Regions from separate parts of the Homo sapiens genome. Here regions 2 and 3 are each linked to region 1. The links are contacts of gene promoters, found by promoter capture Hi-C in blood cells and fetal thymus (Javierre and others, 2016). All regions are on one chromosome and are shown on one strand. Each heading gives the region's core, a stretch centred on a gene start or on the middle of the fragment in contact. The rest is flanking DNA. Distances are from core to core; before and after follow the strand shown. Region 1 holds the start of NRBP2 (nuclear receptor binding protein 2). Region 2 holds the start of MROH6 (maestro heat like repeat family member 6). Region 3 overlaps HSF1 (heat shock transcription factor 1).

The links. Contacts are between HindIII fragments. The CHiCAGO score rates a contact against its expected background, and 5 or more counts as called.
Region 2: a contact is called between the fragment with the promoter of MROH6 here and the fragment with the promoter of NRBP2 in region 1, in 1 of 17 cell types (naive B cells). The highest score is 7.2, in naive B cells.
Region 3: a fragment that was not itself captured here is called in contact with the fragment with the promoter of NRBP2 in region 1 in 3 of 17 cell types (monocytes, M0 macrophages and erythroblasts); the score reaches 7.8 in monocytes.

The regions. Positions count from the first base shown.
Region 1 is chr8:143,839,083-143,842,840 of GRCh38, reverse strand. It overlaps NRBP2 (nuclear receptor binding protein 2), which reads left to right and starts at 1,868. Exons shown (of 18, transcript NM_178564.4): 1 at 1,868-2,135; 2 at 2,612-2,734; 3 at 2,811-2,912; 4 at 3,016-3,105; 5 at 3,292-3,332; 6 at 3,433-3,527; 7 at 3,646-3,669; 8 at 3,741-3,758. The coding sequence starts at 2,007. RefSeq lists enhancers at 521-1,250, 1,251-1,981 and a silencer at 1,407-1,966. The HindIII fragment of the contact is 4,061 bases long and covers 474-3,758 here.
Region 2 is chr8:143,570,749-143,574,166 of GRCh38, reverse strand. It overlaps MROH6 (maestro heat like repeat family member 6), which reads left to right and starts at 1,395. Exons shown (of 14, transcript NM_001100878.2): 1 at 1,395-1,746; 2 at 1,982-2,134; 3 at 2,346-2,500; 4 at 3,173-3,290. The coding sequence starts at 1,453. It also overlaps a transcript of NAPRT not described here. RefSeq lists an enhancer at 2,037-2,886. The HindIII fragment of the contact is 15,945 bases long and covers 1-3,418 here.
Region 3 is chr8:144,291,850-144,295,903 of GRCh38, reverse strand. It overlaps HSF1 (heat shock transcription factor 1), which reads right to left. Exons shown (of 13, transcript NM_005526.4): 1 at 4,030-4,054. Among named protein-coding and RNA genes, the nearest start is that of HSF1, 2.3 kb to the right of the region's middle. RefSeq lists enhancers at 3,503-3,562, 3,165-3,821 and a silencer at 3,953-4,054. The HindIII fragment of the contact is 1,460 bases long and covers 2,072-3,531 here.

The DNA.
Region 1 (3,758 bases), core at 619-3,118:
ACAGACCAGCACGGGTCTGCAGGTGTCCCCACCCACTGCAGGCATGGGGACAGTGCTCAACCTCCCAGCACTGAGGTGTGACAATGAGCACAGCATGTCAGCAGCCAGGGAAGCCCTCCGTACCTCAGTGTCCAGGGTTTTTATTGGGTTGGTCACACAGGCATGGCTGACCTCCCAGGTGGCTGACTTTGGCCTCCAGCCCCTGCAGAGGTCAGGCTGATGCCACATGGCCCAAGGTCCCCCCGTAGACCATATTGTTAGCACAGACCAGGGGTGTCCAATCTGTGGGCTTTCCTGGCACACATTGGAAGAATTGTCCTGGGCAATACCCTTAAATAAAATACACTTAACACTAACAACAGCTGATGAGCTTTAAAAAAAATCTCAATAAGAAAGTTTATGAATTTGTGTTGGGCCATATTCAAAGCTGTCCTTGGCCGAATGCACCCTCTGGGCTGCGGGTTGGACAAGCTTAGCATAGAATCTGGTGTGGCCGAGGTAAACACAGACATTCAAATCAGGCAGAACATTCCAAGGGCTTAGAGGGTGTCTCCCAGGAGCTGGTCAGGGCCAGTTTCAGGGTGGAGGATTTGAACACCCCAAACCTTTACTGCAGAGGGCCTCAGCAGGATCACCTGGCATTGGTGGAAACCACACACAAGGTGCCTGGTGACCAAGGCTGGTCAGAAAAGAGAGACCACAGGGGACGCAGCAGGGCCAGATGCACCTCTGCCAAAGAAAGAAAGAGGCGTCCCAAAGGGCCAGTGCATGGAGCTGCGCGGAGGGGAGGAGCGGAGTTCCAATTTGGGCTCCAGAGAGAGAAGGTAAAGGATGAGGACCCGCCGTGAAGGAGGGAGGAGACCACAGGAAGGCCGTGGGGGCTGTGGGCTGAAGGGGGTTTTAGGTGAGAATCGGGGACAGCCCCGGTGGTCGGCGTGGCTGGAGGGTGTGCTTAGAGCGGCCTCCGGAGGGAGAGGTCGTGTGAGCCGGGTGGGCTCCCCCCTCATGGTTCCACTGTCCCATGGGAGCCAGCCGCGGAAAGGAAATGCGCGTTTGAGGAGAAAAGAGAAAATCGCCATCCTGGAAAGTGAGAAGATGGGCTTGTGGGCGGGAGGAGGCACTGGTGGGCGGGCCAGGGAGAGATTCGTGGTCACCGATCAAAGTCAGCCTGGGTCAGCCTGCTGGTGGGCCTTTCCCCCGCCCTCGGTGCCCCTTCGACCTGTCCCTTGGGGGTCGGCCGGGGAATGAGTGCGTGGCCAGGAGAGCGGGTCCCGCTTTCGAGCCCGCGGGGTCTTCTGCAGCTGGAGGGTGCCGTGGGCTTGGGGGCCCCCAGATGCCCCGGGTCTTCCCCCAGATCCTAGGGGAGCAACCGCGAGAGAAGTGGGCGCTCCGGGCTCCAGGTGTCCGCAGGGCGGGGCCTCCGAGGGGGCGGGGATTTGGGGGCGGTTCCTCTGCGCGGGGCGGGGCCTCATAGGGGCGGGGCTTCGAGGAGGTGAGGCGGGGCCTGGGGTGGGGCTTCGCGGAGGACCCTGGGAACGGGCGGGGGCGGGGACTAAAACGGGGCGGGGATTCGCGGGGGTGGGGCGGGTCCTGGGGCGGGGCTTCGCGAAGGAGGCTTGGAGGACGAGGAGGGGACAGGGCCTGGGGAGGGGCTTCGCGGAGCAGGCCTGGGAGACGAGGAGGAAACAGGGACTGGGGCGGGGCTTCGCGGGGCGGGGCCTCCGGGGGGGCGGGGCCTGGGCGCGGCCCGGGCTCGGCAGCTCTCGGGGAAGCTCTGCTCTGGCTCCGGCAGGCACAGGCGGCTCGGGAGGTGCGCGCCGGCTCCGCCCCCGGGCCCCGCCCGTCCGCCGCGCGCCCGCGCCTCCCAATTCCCAGAGCCGGGGCTGGGGCTCTAGGCTGCCGCGGCGGCTCTAGGCTGGGCTGCTGGGCGCGAGGCCAGGGCGGGCCGGGAGAGGCTGCGCCGGCGGCGGATCGCGCAGAGGGCGGTGGCCTGGGCTGGCCGAACCATGGCGGCCCCGGAGCCGGCGCCGAGGCGGGCCCGGGAACGGGAGCGGGAGCGGGAGGACGAGAGCGAGGACGAGAGCGACATCCTGGAGGAAAGCCCGTGTGGTCGCTGGCAAAAGCGACGGGAGCAGGTGGGCGCGGGGGTTGGGGCACGGGGTGACACCGCCCTCCCAGAGCGGGAGGGGCCTGGAGGCTGCGCGGGGCGTGGGGGCGCTGGGAGAGCGCGGCGGCTGGAAACCTCTCCGCGGCCCCTCGCGGCCCGCGAATCAGCCACCCCTGGACCCCTTTGGCCTGGCGCTCGCCCTGGGACTCCCTGAGGGCCAGTCTCCTCCCAGGACCACCTCCCCATGCCTCTGGACTCAGCCGCTAGCTTCCTGGGGATCCCCCTCGACCCCCTGAAACCTGCTCCAAATCCCCTTAGCCCAGCCCTTGGATAGGAGCCCTTGGCTCCTGGGGGCAGCTACCCTCCAAGCCCCACCTTCCCGCAGAGTGGCTCAGGGCCTGCAGCCCACGCTTGGGCCCACTGGAAAGGTGTGGACAGGGACCAAATCCTCACCCACAACCCTGACACACACCAGGGCACACATAACCCTTTATTCACCCCCAGGTAAACCAAGGGAACATGCCAGGGCTTCAGAGCACCTTCCTAGCCATGGACACGGAGGAGGGGGTAGAGGTGGTGTGGAACGAGCTCCACTTCGGAGACAGGAAGGCCTTCGCGGCGCACGAGGTGAGACCGCTGCCCCCTCCTCATCCTGCTTGGGTGACCACCTGCTGACCACCCAGCGACCACCCTCCCTCCCCAGGAGAAGATCCAGACCGTGTTCGAGCAGCTGGTGCTGGTGGACCACCCGAACATCGTGAAGTTGCACAAGTACTGGCTGGATACCTCTGAGGCCTGCGCGAGGGTGAGCACGGGCAAGGCCCCGGGCAGGCAGAGACCACAGCTAGGTGGGGCGGGCATGGGGACGAACCCGCAGCTGGTGGAAATCCTGAGCTCGCACCGTGCAGGTCATCTTCATCACAGAGTACGTGTCATCAGGCAGCCTCAAGCAATTCCTCAAAAAGACCAAGAAGAACCACAAGGCCATGAACGCCCGGGTATGGGGAGCGGGCTGGGGCAGCCACGGGGACAGGACGGGGTTGGGGCAGCCTCGGGGACTGGGATGGTGAGGGGGTGCCCGGCGGCCTCGGACAGGGGCTGGGCGAGGATGCGGGGCGGGCTCCGCAGGCCCAGCCGCCTCTCCTGCGCCCACCCGACCGACGGAGTCGTGCGTCCGCCGCCAGGCCTGGAAGCGCTGGTGCACGCAGATCCTGTCTGCGCTCAGGTGAGGGCCTGGGCTGGCCTGGGCGCGGCGCCACCGAGCCCCCATCTCTCCAGAGCCTCCTGACCGGCTCCTCCTACTCTCCCCTCCCCAACGTCTGCAGCTTCCTGCACGCCTGCAGCCCCCCAATCATCCACGGGAACCTGACCAGCGACACCATCTTCATTCAGCACAACGGCCTCATCAAGATCGGCTCCGGTGCTGGCGGGGCAGGGCTGGGTGGGGGAACGGGGCAGGGGAAGGTGCCTGGAGCCAAGGGCAGAGGAGTTCTGATGCCCCAGCAGCTAACTCCACTCTTTCTCCCGCCCCTTGGCAGTGTGGCACCGAATCTTCTCCAATGGTAAGTGCGGACTTTGGGGGGACGGGGTCCTGGAGAGGTCCCCGCCCGCTCAGCTCTGCGCCCTCCCACAGCACTTCCAGATGATCTCC
Region 2 (3,418 bases), core at 146-2,645, 270 kb after region 1:
ACTGCACGTGGCTGTGCTGGGCTGGCCCTGCCTCTGCACCAGCAAGTTCCTGATCTCAGGGTTCCGCCAGTTTGGGCAACGTGAGCTTCAAGAGGAACTGCTTGGGGGAGAGGTTCTAGGCTTGGCAGGAAGTGGAGGCTGGGGGCCTGGGCCTCTCTTGTCGAAGCAGCCTGAGGTGGCACAGACAGGCAAGGGTGTGGGGGGAATGCTGACCGCCTGGGGCACTTCCGTCTGCCCAGGCATTCCACCAGACCAGCTCACCTGGCTCCCCGGGCTTCAGGGTGGGCAGCACCACTGTGTGGTTGGCTGAGGGTGGAGGGTGGGGACTTGGAGCAGAGGCCCAGTCCAGCCAGCCCCGGGGAGTACGAGCTAGGAGAGAGATACAGACTCACACACATTGGACAGAACACACCACACCCCAGGCACCCCCAGGGCACCCGCGCACTCCGAGGGGCCCAGCCAGAGTGGCTGTATTCTTCCGTTCTTGCACTGCTGTAAAGAAATACCTGAGACTGGGTAATTTCTAAGGAAGAGAGGTTTAATTGGCCTGTGGTTCTGCAGGTACAGGAAGCATGGCTGGGGAGGCTTCAGGAAACTTACCATCTTGGTGGAAGCGGAAGCGGGCAGGTCTTACATGGCCGGAGGAAGGGGTGGGGCGGTGCCACGCACTTCCAGACAACCAGATCTTGAGAAGTCTTATCATGGGAACAGCACCAAAGGGGGAAGTTGCCCCCAGGATCCAATCACTTCCCACCAGGCCCCACCTCCAGCACTGGGGATTACGTTTCAACATGAGATTTGGCCAAGGACCCAGGACCCAGAGGGGCCTGCACAAGCTCTGGAGGGGCCACCGCTCCTCTGGTGTCTTCACTGCCCCCTCCACACCTCCGGGCTGCCCCAAGCTCACCCAGTCATGCCTGTTGCAAGGTGTCTGACAGAGCCAGCGTGCAGGGGGCGGAGCCAGCGTGCAGGGGGCGGGGCCAGCCCCTAGCCCCAGGCCCAGTGGGGAGCTGACTGCTGCTTGGGGGCTGAATCAGGCCTCGACTCAGGGTGGGGCCCAGACTCCTGGACCCTGCGAGGACCTCCTCAGAGCTGTCCACAACTGCCCTGAGCTCCCTGGTCAACAGGGGCTGGTAGTCAGGGTGGGGGCCCTTCTCCCCCTTTCTTCGTGGATCTGCCAGCTCTTGGGGATCCTGTTCTCAGGGCCCTGGTGGGTAGAGCCACACCACAGGCACTCAGGCTGCAGGTGGCCACTCCCCTCCAGCAGCCCAGGCAGGAGGGCCCCTCAAAGGCCCATTGTAGGCACGTCCGTGTGGCTCCCCAGCCCCCGCAAGCTCACGCTAGCGCACGCCACCACGCCCGTCCGTGGTCCCGCCCGGGGCGGCTTCTAGGTCAGTCCTGGGCACAACTTCGCAGGAGGAGCAGCGGCAGGTGCTGCAGGCAAGGGCCGCCATGGCTGGGGGTGTGTGGGGCCGGAGCCGGGCCCGGGAGGCTCCCGTGGGGGCTCTAACCCTGACAGCACTGACTGAAGGAATCCGGGCCAGGCAGGGGCAGCCCCAGGGACCCCCTTCCGCAGGCCCTCAGCCCAAGTCCTGGGAGGTCAAACCTGAGGCTGAGCCACAGACCCAGGCACTCACCGCCCCCTCTGAGGCAGAGCCTGGACGTGGGGCCACCGTCCCTGAAGCTGGCAGCGAGCCCTGCTCCCTCAACAGTGCCCTGGAACCAGCCCCTGAGGGGCCCCACCAGGTGACGGGGGAGGGAAGGGATGTTGTGCGAACCGGCCTGGGGGTCCTGTGGATGGTAGGTGGAAGGCGGGGTGGCAGGGGGGCGGTGCTGGCCCCGGGGGAGGTCAGCGTGAAACAGGCTGGTGAGCAACAGAGGAGCAAGGGATTTTGTAGGAAGCCAGGTGGGAGGCCGAGGGACCAGGAGGAGAGCTAGGAGAGGTTTGGGCACTTCAGACGCCCCACCCATCCTGCCCTAGGTTCCCCAGAGTTCCTGGGAGGAGGGAGTTCTTGCCGACCTCGCGTTGTACACGGCTGCCTGCCTGGAGGAGGCTGGCTTTGCAGGGACCCAGGCGACAGTGCTCACCCTGTCCTCAGCCCTGGAGGCCCGGGGCGAGCGGTTGGAGGACCAGGTCAGCCTTCACCCACTTCATGCCCTACAGAATCCTGCCGGTTCGGGCACCAAGGTGGTGGGAGGGGCCTGGAGAGCGCAGCCTGACCCTGCCATCTTCAGGCTGCTCCTGCCAGGCGGGATCAGGGTGGGGGTGGAGGTGGGGTGCAGGCCAGAGGGGAATGGACGGTGGAGGAGGCCTGACTGCTGAAGTCTGCCCCCTTCCCCACCAGGTGCATGCTCTGGTGCGTGGGCTGCTGGCGCAGGTGCCCAGCCTAGCGGAGGGGAGGCCCTGGAGGGCGGCCCTGCGAGTGCTGAGCGCACTGGCCCTGGAGCATGCGCGGGACGTGGTGTGTGCGCTGCTACCCCGCTCTCTGCCCGCCGATCGGTAACCCAACCGTCCTGGCCCTGCGGTCCCCACGCGGCTTCCTTCCCTCTTCCCGCTTGGCGGTGGAGTCTGGCCCCAGAAGAGGGAGCTGAAAAGGGGCAGGGCCTCCTTATTCCAGCCCCGCGATGACTCATGCCCCGTATCCATTCCCGCTCCCCTCATTTTTAGCTCCGCAAACTCCCCCCACACTCCTGCCACAGAGTTTCTGATGCTGGGCTCCTCTCTTGGAGCCACCTTCTATCTTCGGGTGGCCTCCCCTGGAGACCGTCCTGGGGTTGGCTCCGGAGTGGGGTGAATGAGGCTGGGGGGCTAACGTGCCTGGACACCCCTGGCTCTTTGGTTAATTGGCCCCAGAAGTTATCTTTGGTTTTATTCTCTGTGGCAATTTTTTTCTTTTTAATAATGCCAGGTTTGTTTCACTGTCGCTGACCCAACGGGACTCCCAGTGGGTCCCCACCCTGCAGCTCAGCTTGAGATAGGCTATGTTGTGGTCTGCACAATTAACCCTTCATTTGTTTCTCTGAGATTTGGGGATGGGGGGAGATGGGAGGGGTTTCCTGCCCCTCCCCTGCTGGAGTCCTACTGGCTGCCTCCACCCTGGCTGGGGACTCCCTACATTCCCTGGACACCCACCCATCTCTTGTCTCACACCAGCCCCCTCCAAACCCTCAGGGTAGCAGCCGAGCTCTGGCGCAGCCTAAGCCGTAACCAGCGTGTAAATGGGCAGGTGCTGGTGCAACTGCTGTGGGCGCTGAAGGGTGCTTCGGGGCCGGAGCCCCAGGCACTGGCGGTAGGTGGCTCCAGCCATTACCAGGGGGTGGGGGCGGGGGTGGGGGGTGGCGAGGAGCGGGGAGGATGGGCATAGGGAGTTTGCACCTAGGTAACTGCTCCTGGAATGTCCCATGCGTGTCTGAGGCT
Region 3 (4,054 bases), core at 1,552-4,051, 450 kb before region 1:
CGCCATCCGAATGCAGGTAGGTCTTAAAAAGGAATGCCTCAGGGCCAGGCGCGGTGGCTCAAGCCTGTAATCCCAGCACTTCGGGAGGCTGAGATGGGAGGATGGCTTGAGCCCGTGAGTTCCAGACTAGCTTGGGCAATACGGCGAGACCCTGTCTCTACTAAAACCTTAAAAAGAAAAAAAAAAAAAAGCCAGGTCTGGTGGTGCAAGCCTGTAGTCCCAGTGACTCAGCTGAGGTGACTGGATCACTTGAGCCTGGGAGGCAGAGGCTGCAGCGAGCTGCAATCATAGCCCTGCACTCCAGCCTGGGCAACAGAGCGAGACCTTATCTAAAAAACAAAAAGTGCTTCCTTAAATTTTGCACCCAGGTGCCCCCTCTGGCCTCACCCTGATCCTGAGGCCTCCGTCTACCTGGGTTCGTTCTAACCTGCGTGACCATCATTCTAGCATTTGTCTGGCACAGGTCATGTGGCTGTGCCTTGTTCTCAGGCTCCTCAGCCAGCTGGGTGGCTCCTGGGGCTGTAATCTCACCATCTCAGATGTCGAGATTACTTTTCATACTTCCTTATCTTGTTAATAAAGATGGGACAAAATCATAGCTTGTAAAAAACTGGGATGATGGTGAACCCAGTTCTGAGGCTTCACTTTCTGCTTTTGTTTGGTTCTCCATGCTGTCAAATTCTCTGAAGAGGCTGTTGCCCTCCTGAGTCAGCTGCAGCCCAGCAAGGCCCTAGAAGAGCCTCTGCTGGTGGACAGAGGAGCTGCTGCATGCAGACGAGGAAGCTGGGCTGAGGGCCGGCACCAGGGCACGGGGCAGGGAGGCTGCGGGTCCCGGGTCTCATGGGTCTCAGTTCTATGGAGGTGCCTGTCAGTCCAGGTATTCAGTCCCCCAACCCCGTCTTTGGGTCTCAGTGGTACTGGATCCAGGTGTACCTTTGGGAGAAGCTGTTGAGAAGCTGGCTGAGGGAGGACCACCCACGTGCACGCCCATGCTCTTATGTGGATCCCCGGGATCATAACCTTGTGGCTGACACATTTCCTCTCCAAGGCTGTGCTGTCCTCCACGACTTGCTGGGTCCCCTCAAGGCCCTTGCCTGTGTGGGTGGGGTGCTCATGGGAATGAGGGTCTTGGGAGGGGGGGGTGGGAAATCAAACAACACAGGGATGGGGTAGCTGCCACAGTCCCCACCAATGGGGTCTCCTGGGCAGTGACCCGGCATTCTGCCTCCAGTGGCTGCAGTGGGAGTCCTGATCTCAGGCCAGGGAGGGGACGTGCAATGGTGGTCCAGACCTGGTCCCATTCCTGGCCAGGCTCAGTAAAGTTACTGGCCAGTTTCTGGGCCTCGGTCTCCCCCAGGTTATTCAGCCTTGAGAGTTAGTCACCATGCCTGTGATTCTGCCTCATCTTCTTGTGTCAAATAGGGAGGGTTTTTCTTGGCAGAATGGTGGTAAGACTCTGAGCCAGAAGGAGACTCTCCCAGAGAAGGCAGCAGAGAGCAAGAGCACCAGGGCCTTCTCAAGGCCTCCGAGAGCCAGCTGGGCCTGGGCAGTAGATTTGTGGGAGGGTGCCCTGTTGGGACTCTGCTGACAGGGAGTCCTCAGGGCTTGTGTGAGTGCTCTCAAAGTCACAGGATGGGATGATCACCTCCTTTCTCCAGGCCAGGCAGCCAGCGCCGGAAAGCTCTGCAGCCCCCTGCGCGGCCTGGAGAAGGGCTTCCTTCCAGTTTTAAGTCAGTGTTTCTGTCTCATTGCCATGCTCGCCCCCAGTGCTACGTCCTGCACCAACCATTGCCACTTCATACTGACCAGGTGGAACCAAACACTCACATTCCAGTTGGCTCCCCATCCCTCCCCAGGGAGAACAGATCCACAGGTGGTGCACCTGTGAGTGGAGTGGAGGCTGGCCACGGGCCTCATCACACCTGCCTTCCTTGCTCAAAAGCCCTGCCCAGAACATGCCTCGGTCCCAAAAAAGGGTACACTGGGCCCTAACCCACATGCCTCATAATCTTTAAGCAGAAACAGCAAGCAGATTACGGGACAGGACAGATCACGCTAGTAGGATTAAGCTTAGAATATCCCAGATAATCGCGGATGCCCCTCCCCCAATGGGGGAGTTATTCCCCTTAACTTCTGAGGATTAAGGGGAATAAGAAAAAGAAGAAGGGCTGGGTGCAGTGGCTCACACCAGTAATCCCAGCACTTTGGGAGGCCAAGGCGGGTGGATAACTTGAGGTCAGGAGTTCCAGACCAGCCTGTCCAATGTGGTGAAACCCCGTCTCTACTAAAAATACAACAATCAGCCGGGTGTGGCAGCACGCACCTGTAGTCCTGGCTACTCGGGAGGCTGAGGCAGAATTGCTTGAACCCGGGAGGTGGAGGTCGCAGTGAGCCGAGATCGCACCACTGCACTCCAACCTGGGTGACAGAGCAAGACTCGGTCTAAAAAAAAAAAAAAGAAAAAAGAAAAAGACGGATAAAAGAAGACAGAAACATGGGAGTATTTCCTTTGCACAAGAATCCAAGGTCTAGAATGAAGAGATGGTGAAATGAAGCCAGCCTCCAGGAAGGTGCACTGTGCCTTAATGGGACCTGGGGATGGGAAGGCCAACACAGAGGTGTCAGCGGGACAAACACAAAGTGTTTCTAACAAGAGCAAAGATTTCCAGTCTTCTCTTTATTTCCAAACACTCTGTAGGTAAAGCAGAGCCTCAGTAAACCCAAGAAGCAGAAAACCTGGCCTCCTGCCTGGGGCAGCTTCAGTTTAGACTTTTCTTCATTCCTAACAGCATAAAGAGGCTGTGCAAATGGGAGGCACTCAGCAGAGCCTGAAGAACTCTGGGGTCTTAGCTCCTGGGAGGCCACACATGCTTGGTGGCACCCTGCCGGTCACGGTGCCTCCAAAAGCTCCCAATGATCAGTGGCCTTTCTTTTTTTTCTTTTTTTTCTTAGACAGGGTCTCACTCTTTGCCAGGCTGCAGTGGCGGGATCTTGGTTCAGTGCAACCTCTGCCTCCCAGGTCCAGGGAGTCCTCCTATCTCAGCCTCCCAAGTAGCTAAGACCACAGGCAAGCACCACCACGCCCGGCAAATTTTTTGTATTTTTAGTAGAGCTGGGGTTTTGCCATATTGTCCGGGCTGGTCTCGAACTCCTGGCCTCAAGTGATCCACCCGCCTCCGCCTCCCAAAGTGCTGGGATTACAAGCAAGAGTCACCCCACTCGGCCAGTGTGGCCCTTCTTCAGGTCATCACTTGCCAGCCGCAGGCGGTGGCTCTGCCCCTCACCGGACACGACGTCACAGCCGGGATGTGAACAGCAGATTCTGATCTCCAACTCCAGACAATCACTGATTTACTTCTGCAAACCGGAGCTGTCCGGTCTTGCAGGGTCGGACCATGTAAACAAGCCTGCTGCCAGGCAACTGAAGACAGAAACACGAATAAAGATGCCCCATAAGGAATGAAAAACAAAACTCCTCTTGGGAAACCCAGATTTGGGATTCGGAAACGGGCTTGAGATCAACCTGAAGCTTCATGACGTCTTACTGTTTCCACTGCCTTTCCTGTTCCACTACAGCAACGCCCTCCACTTCACGTGCCAAGTCCTGACTTTCTCCTAATAGTTGCCGACCCAGCACCCCGTAGGCTGTCCCCTGGGGACGCCGATGTCCTCTGGGGCATAGCGTCCGCTGGCGAAGCCGGGTGCTTGCCCTAAGCGCGGACACTTCCGCAACCGCCCAACAGTTAGCAGAAGCCCAATACAAGAGACGCCCCATTCTCCCCATCCCAGGGAAACTTCGCTGGGGCAGGGGTTGAACCGAGTGTGGGTCTCGTAGCCGCTTTCCCAACTTAAGGCTCTGGGTCTGAGCAGGCTCGGGACCCGCCGCCCTTCTCTGGCGGGGGCAGGGCAGGCTCACCGCGCGTAAGCTGAAGTGCGGCAGGGCCCCTCCCCGCAGCCCTCCCGCGCCGTCCGCCGCGGCCCTGCTCCCTCCCGGTCCCCACGGGCCCCGCGCCCGCGCGCTGCCCTCACCGGGCTCCAGCAGATGAGCGCGTCG